Linked DNA regions of Homo sapiens: region 2 is linked to region 1. Evidence: promoter capture Hi-C in human tissues and cell types (Jung and others, 2019). All regions are on one chromosome and are shown on one strand. Each heading gives the region's core, a stretch centred on a gene start or on the middle of the fragment in contact. The rest is flanking DNA. Distances are from core to core; before and after follow the strand shown. Region 1 holds the start of CDAN1 (codanin 1). Region 2 overlaps TTBK2 (tau tubulin kinase 2).

Evidence for each region. The method cuts DNA at HindIII sites, captures the fragments that hold promoters and counts their contacts. A contact is called where the count stands out against the background at its distance.
Region 2: a fragment that was not itself captured here is called in contact with the fragment with the promoter of CDAN1 in region 1 in 1 of the 25 tissues and cell types used here (aorta).

The regions. Positions count from the first base shown.
Region 1 is chr15:42,735,357-42,739,086 of GRCh38, forward strand. It overlaps CDAN1 (codanin 1), which reads right to left and starts at 1,772. Exons shown (of 28, transcript NM_138477.4): 1 at 1,657-1,772; 2 at 946-1,424; 3 at 519-722; 4 at 154-323; 5 at 1-18. The coding sequence starts at 1,746. It overlaps TTBK2 (tau tubulin kinase 2), which reads right to left. Exons shown (of 15, transcript NM_173500.4): 15 at 3,374-3,730. RefSeq lists silencers at 999-1,288, 1,379-1,518, 1,709-1,958. The HindIII fragment of the contact is 10,495 bases long and covers 1-3,730 here.
Region 2 is chr15:42,874,809-42,878,904 of GRCh38, forward strand. It overlaps TTBK2 (tau tubulin kinase 2), which reads right to left. Exons shown (of 15, transcript NM_173500.4): 2 at 3,741-3,876. The coding sequence starts at 3,809. Among named protein-coding and RNA genes, the nearest start is that of TTBK2, 44 kb to the right of the region's middle. The HindIII fragment of the contact is 8,377 bases long and covers 1-4,096 here.

The DNA.
Region 1 (3,730 bases), core at 522-3,021:
GGTTTGGTACCAGGTTCTCTAGATAGATACAAAAAGAAAGCCCATGGTATGGGCACCATTTGGAGCCAAGGCTCAGTTCCAAGTGCCTTACCAATTCTCTTACCCATAAGTTCTACAAGTGTCTCCACTCCCGCTCCCTCCGCTCTCACTCACCAGCAATGCACGAGGAGTAAACAAGGGCTACAAGCTCCAGGCGCTGGCGGGAAGACACTCTGGCAGGGTCTGCAGGTTCATCTGTGAGGCTTCCTGTCCGGCTGGGGAGGGGCGACCCCAATTCTGGGGTGGGACAGGTGGGGGTAGGTGACTGCTGCAGCTGCTTAGAGCTATGGAATAAAGAAATTTCATGAGCAGTCAGCTTGGCTTCCCTGCTACGGCCACACTCAGGTCACTCCAGAGAAGATACCAACAGCCCAGGAGACAAACCCAGAGTCCCCAAGAGGGAAATCAATTTCAGGGAAAACCCCTGAAGATCCCCCACAGCGAGGAAACCGATATCCCCAGGAGCGGCCAGGCCATACCGCTCCTTCCTGAGCATCTCTCGCTCCTCTTGCAGACTTCTGCACCCTGGGGGAAGGCCAAGGCCCCAAGGGCTAGTGTCCAGGGCTGAGGGTTGGGAACTGGGGACACAGCTGATTGGGGGTGAGGTGAAGCAGGTCTTGGGCTTGGAGAGTGACCGCTCTTCGCTCACCGGAGTTGGGTTGATCCTGCGAGAAGGCTTCGTCCTGCTGAGAGTAGCCACAGGTTTTTCTCAAATTCCTATCTTCAAACATCTCCCCTCCACCACCGCAACAGCTAGACCTCTTGCCAAAAAACCCCACAAAAACCCTCACCATCACCCCCAGCCTTCTACCCATCCTGGCGCTCCACTGCGGAGCGCCGAGCTCGAATGACTGACTCCCCAGAGCCTTCGTGGTACCCATCTCCTGCATGAGAGCTGAGTCTCACCCTGTAGGGCCGGGGGGAACCGAGCCTACGGGAGGGAACTCCTCCAGGTTGCTGAGGTTTGGCGGATCAGACAGCGTGAGGCTGGGGCGGCTGGGGCTGCCAGAGCCCCTAAGCCTCCGGCCCCCGGCTCCGGGCAGGCTCTCCCCGCTGACCCCCTCCTCCAGGCCGCGGCCTCCACGCTCGCGGGCCGGCCCCGGGCCCCGCCTCCTGCCCCCGCGGCGGGCCAGAGGGGCCTCGGCAGCGGTGCTCTGGGCCTCGGTCGGAGGGAAAAGCTGGCTGCGCGCCCCGCGGCTACCCCGCGGCGGGCCTCCCGGCCTCCCTGGCAAGGCTGCCGAGGCGCCCGGGGTCTTGGCGGGGGTCGGGGGCCCCTGCGGGAGGACGCGGCTGCTCTGCTCCCTCAGGAAGTTCAACAGGAACGGTACGAATTCTTTCCGCAGGGCCCGGAGTGAGCTCAGCGCGGCCGCCTCCCCAGCGTTATCCTAGGGCAGAAGCACAGGTGGAGGGGCGAGAGGGTCAGCCGCCGGCCCGCGGGCCGTGAGCAGCCGGGGCCGTAGGGCGCGCCTCGGGTGGGCGGCCCGGGCAGCGGCGCCCAGTTGGAGTGCACTCGGCCCGGCTGGCAGCCAGGCGCCCTAGAGGAAGGGGACTGGAGGGCTGGACTCCACTGCGGGAACCGGCTTCGAGTCAGACCTGGGGGCGTGTCACCGCTGTTACCTCCGAACCCTGGGTGCTGCGCGCGATCCACCGCACGACGGCTGCGACCGACACCTCTTCTCGCAGCAGCGACTCCAAAACGGCCGCCATCCCGGTCGGGGCGCTCTGGGGCGACTGCGCAGGCGCCGGCGCGCCGCGGGCGGCCAGGGAGGGGCGGGGCCGGCGGCGGGGAACGACCGTTGGGTCGCGGGATGGGGAGGGACCCGGCTGGCGGGGCGGGGCGGAGCCGGCTGTTGCCCAGACCCACGGAGTCAAGGCCTCGCTGAGTCCTCAACCCCGGCCGAGAGGCCGGTTGTTAGGAGGTGAAATGTGGATCACAGCGCCTGGGGAGGCCCACCTTGGCTGCCCGCCCTGGAGCGACCTGAAGGGAGGGATTCGAGCTGGGAGTGGGGCTGCCGCGGGTCGGACGCCCCTCTAGGGAGACCCAGGACCCGGGAGAGAGGTAGAGGGGAGCAGAGACAGCCACCAGCTTCTATCTTCTGCTCTAAGCACATTCTTTCACGAGTTTAAGTTTCCTAGATCCAACTGGCACCACCCCAGAGAAATTATAATCTAATCTTTCATTTTGACTTTGTTCTTCTCAAAGGCCGATTTTTCAATCCCTTGGCCGAGCAGTACCCATCGGCTTTTCAGCGCTCACCATCAACTGACCATTTAGGAAAGAATTATTTCTAGGAGGTTCTTAATAATCCCCAAGCCACAACCCTTAAAGTGCCTCGGGCCACCCTGCACACAGAATTGCTTGTATGTAGCTTTATTTACTTAAGTGGGTTTACATGAGGTTAATATTTCAACTACTTTGCAGTTTAGATGTCAGTAAGCATATCATGATTAGCTTCTGGGAGCTTGAGGTTTGTATTTTTGGGTTTGGTGTTTTTTGTTTTTGTTTTGTTTTTTTTGAGACAGGGTCTTGCTCTGTTGCCCAGGCTGGAGTGCAGTGGCGTGAGCACGGCTCACTGCAGCCTTGGCCTCCTGGGCTCAAGCAATCCTCCCGACTCAGCCTCCCTAGGGCTATAGCCCAGCTAATGTTTTGGCCGGGAGAGGGCAGCAGATCCAAAGTGCTGGGATTATAGGCGTGGGCCACCACGCCCGGCCTGAGTAATTTCTTAATCTCCTTTATTTAATTTTATTTTGAGATGGAGTCTCGCTCTGTCACCCCCGGGGCTGGAATGCAGTGGGAGGCAGAGGTGGGCGGATCACGAGGTCGAGAGATGGAGACCATCCTGGCCAACATGGTGAAACCGTGTCTCTAATAAAAATACAAAAATTAACTGGGCGTGGTGGCACGCGCCTGTAGTCCTAGCTACTGGGGAGGCTGAGGCAGGAGAATCGCTTGAACCTGGGAGGCGGAGGTTGCAGTGATCCAAGATCACGCCACTGCACTCCAGCCTGGGTGACAGAGCGAGACTCCATCTCAAAAACAAAACAAAACAAAAAAACCTGAGAGAGGATTTTGAAGGTTGCTGCTCAGTGACAAATCAAGCAAGGGAATCCAAGCGGAGAAAAACAGATGGCACGAACATTCCATGTCAAACCAAACCAGGAGGGGTGAGGCAGTGCCCTTGTGAATGCCTCCTGAGAGTTGCTCTGGTTCAAAGGAAGGTTACGGGCGGAAGGATGAGGGTGGGGGTGCAGGAATCTCTCTAGTGGCAGAAGGGGTATTTCCTATGGAGAAGGAAAAAGTACCTCCAGCCAGACAGAATAATGGACTAAAAAGGAGCTTTTAATATTTTAATTTTATTACAGGAAAACATCTCCTAACTGCAGGGACACTTAACACCTAGCTTCTATTCAGTCCTGGGCTGCTTTTTCTAGGGAACTTCTAGATGTGGTACTGCATTTACAGTAACACTATCTGCTCCCCGTTGATCTTGTAACATCTGGTGTATTCAATAACTTTATTAAATTAGAAAAATATTTTCCACTTTTGAAATCCAGACCATCACACAAACAGAACTAGATTTTGCATGCGGAATGAATATTTTATTACTAGGTTATAAAAATAAAATACAAAATAATTTTAAAACAGAACTTAAAACACTGTACAAAGCTTTAATATGATACAAATGGGAAA
Region 2 (4,096 bases), core at 501-3,000, 140 kb after region 1:
AAGCCCGTCTCTACTAAAATTATAAAAATTAGCCGGGCGTGGTGGCATGTGCCTGTAATCCCAGCTACTCAGGAGGCTGAGACAGGAGAATCGCTTGAACCTGGGAGGCAGAGGTTGCAGTGAGCCAAGATCACACCATTGCACTCCAGCCTGGGCAACAGTGTGAGACTGCCTCAAAAAAAAAAAAAAATTGATACTTATGATTCTTTATATTTTGTCCATTAAATAAAACCTAGTGTAGGTTTAAAAACTCATAAACAGTACCAAACAGATTCCTTTCTAACTAAGGACTGGTAGAGGTAGCTTCACGTTTTACCTCACAAAAAACCTTACCAAATGACAGAATAAAACATCTAGGCTGAAGTAAATGTTCTTGCTTCTTAGTCTATTTCTATTCCTATAATGCCATTTAAACATTAATACAGCATTTTTTAATTGGCCTGACAAAGCCCTAAGAAATTATCAAGGTTTATGAGGCAAAGAGACAGAGGCAGTTTAGTATGATTGGGGTACACAGATTACAAGAAGAATAGAGGTAAGGTCTGTGGAAGATTGTATTTTCCAACGATAGGCACAACAATATCATCCATTCCTGCTCTTCTTCAATGTGAAGAAAACCTTTCACACTGATGAAAACAATGTGACCTTGCTACTCCCCCACCAAGAGGTAGAGTCCATTTTCCCCTTAACTGTTTTCATCAACAGAATAGGGCAAAGTGACACTGTGCCAGCTCTGAGGATTGCCCTTAACCAGCCTGGGAGCTTCCATTTCCTGTCTCTTGAAAGCTAGCTACCATGTAAGAAATGGGACCATCTGGCCAGGCACAGTGGCTCACATCTGTAATCCCAGCACTTTGGGAGGTCGAGTCAGGTGAATCACCTGAGGTCGGGAGTTCCAGACCAGACTGGCCAACATGGCAAAACCCCGTCTCTACTAAAAATACAAAAATTAGCCAGTGTGATGGCGCGTGCCTGTAATCCCAGCTACTTGGGAGGCTGAGGCAGGAGAGTCGCTTGAACCCGGGAGGCGCAGGCTGCAGTGAGCTGAGATCACGCCTCTGCACTCCAGCCTGGGCGACAGAGCAAGACTCCGTCTCAAAAAAAAAAAAAAAAAAAAAAGAAATGGGACCATCCTGAGAAGCCACAGCCACATGGAGATGCCCTAGAAAATGAGCCACCAGGTTGGGGGTTGGGGGTTGGGGGTGAAGAGCTAAGGACCTCAAGATACCGGACAAGTGAGTGAAGAAACCATGTATAAATGGATCCTCTAACCAAAACAATCTTCCTAGTGCCACATGGTTAAGAGACAAATCACCCAGGCAAACTCTTCCCAAATTCCTACGTCACAAAACTGTAAGCAAAATAAGCCTCTAAATTTTGATGTAGTTTGTTATATAACAATAAATAACTAAAACACCATCCATAACAGTGAGCTTGTCATTTTTTTTTTAACTAAAAATGCCACTATGCCCTCCCAAATTTTGGAGATAAGTTGCTCAGATATATTAGTTCTAATTACCAGGACAAGGGAACCATGCCAATCAAGAGTTTCACTTGTCACCTTTTGATATGTCCACTGGAGAACAAACCAGCCTTAACACAGTGCTTACTATAATCCTCTCACCAAAGCAACACTCATGTCTGACTTACATAAAAGATTAGCAACTGCTGAATCTCCCTGCACTAGTCCATGATAATGACATAGTTTCCTTATATTTGGTCAAGTAAATTTTCAAAGCCTACTGACTTACCTAATCAGTAAAACACATTGTACCATACAAATAAAAAATAAAAATTCTATTTCTAAAGGGTCTTCTTTTTCCAATCTGTTCATAGATTAAGGAAACCATTAAAATAGCTTTGTGAAACCTACTAATGGAAAAAAACTTTGGTGGACTGTGTAGCAATAAAAAAATATTTAAATATATCCCAAACAAAAATAGTTCCTTTAAGAAACAAGCAGTATTAGAGAGATGGCAGATTCCAGGTCTAGGAAAAGAAAGCCATTGAAAGACGATTAGGATCCTGTCAAAAGAACTCAGAAGACAATGTGAAGTGTGTCCCCTTAGTCAAATAAGACAATTTAAACATTTATAAGGATAACTACCATTCACCGAAACACATCAAATTTGATTAAATCCATGAATTCTTAATTACACTAAAAAACAAATCTAATTGATCACTTTTGGAGAATGGCAAGAAACCAATTCATTGTTTTGAAAACTGGTAAATTAAAAAAGAGAAGCAAGTATTTATCTTGTTTTCCTAATCAAATTGTACCTCAAGATAATCAAATAATTGATGATAAAAAACTTGTCCTTATAGATACATTTCAACTAATAAATGAATTATGGAATATCACCAATCTGCAATCCCTAACTAACAGACCTAGGTAATGATCATCAATAGTGTTAACACCACAAAAAAGATAGACAGACGGACAATAAGATATTATATGCCTCCTAGTGAAGGCTCACAATAACATTTATGAAAAAAAGATGTCCCCATCTCAAAACAAATCTAAAGTCAGATCTAATCAAGCCTGTAGATACAACTACCAATTTACATGAAATACACAAGACAGAGAAATGTGTTAACCCCAAATGGAAGCAAATAGCAAAATCCAAACCATGGGAAAGTCTACAGACAAATCACCTAATTTCTTCAGTAAATAAATTGTAAGGAAAAAAAAAGAGCAATAAAGAGGAAGGAACCTAGAAATGAAAAGTAATGGCAACTAATTACAATATCCAGGTTTTATTTGGATCTTGATTCAGGCTATTCAAAATACTTTACAATCAGGAGAATGTGAAAACTAAAACTGTATTTGGTAATATTAAGAAATGATTACTTTTTTTTAGTACTACTACAGTATTTTATAACAGTAGAAAGTAGCTGAAAAATACTACATGCTAACAGACAAAATGATACACAATCTTGGGGGAGGAGTCAGCAGGGAAGAAATGATTATTTTTAAGGTATGATAATGGTATTATGATTATGTTTTTAAAAGTAAGTCCTTATTTTTTAGAGATACATACTGAAGTATACACAGAAGAAATGCTAAGGTTAAATATCGCTTCAAAATATTCTGGGAGAGAGATGAAACAAAATTAATCATACATTGATGACTATTTAACTTGAGTCATGAGAACATGGAGGTTCATTATATAAGTCTATTTTTTATGTATACTTACAATTTTCCTTAATAAAAAAAAAAAAAGAGAGAGCAGCTCATTGTACTTCCTTTTTTTTTCCCGGGTTCACGCCATTCTCCTGCCTCAACCTCCTGAGTAGCTGGGACTACAGGCGCCTGCACCACGCCCAGCTAATTTTTTTTGCTTTTTTTTTTTTTAGTAGAGATGGGGTTTCATCGTGTTAGCCAAGATGGTCTTGATCTCCTGACCTCGTGATCCGCCCGCCTCGGCCTCCCAAAGTGCTGGGATTATAGGCGAGAGCCACTGCGCCCGGCCAGCTCATTGTACTTTCAAACACTGTATTTTTTTCATCTGTTCAAAAATTTAGTACTATACGAAGCAAGAGTAAGAATTAGGGTATAAACAGAGCTTAATCATAGAAAAATAACTGTAAATAACTGCTTTAGGCATATAAGTAATGTATGTAATATTTCCTAATGAAATGCTATTTTTATCAGGATACCAAAAATTACCCCCCGATATGTATACACACACACACACACACACACACACACACACACACTCTCTGAGATGTACACTCACCACTTTCCATCTTTCTTTCACTAGGATTCCAACACTCAGGATATCCAGCTGCTCTCCTCCCCCACTCATTGCAATACACTGATATGGTAGAACAGCTACACAGGCATCCAGTTCCCAAGGGTGGTTTCCATTTAACCTAAAACAACAACAACAAAAAATAGTAGCAGTATTTAGGGTTAACTAATCAACACAAATAACATTCCAGCATCAGGAAGCACTACTAATACTATACACTAATTAGGCTATTTTGTTGGGAAGAAGGGGAAAAAGACCTAGAAATGTTTGATGCGTATTTTTAAAACCACGTATCTTTCTATTACAGATGCCCAGTGAAATAGCTAGGCATTACAAAGACA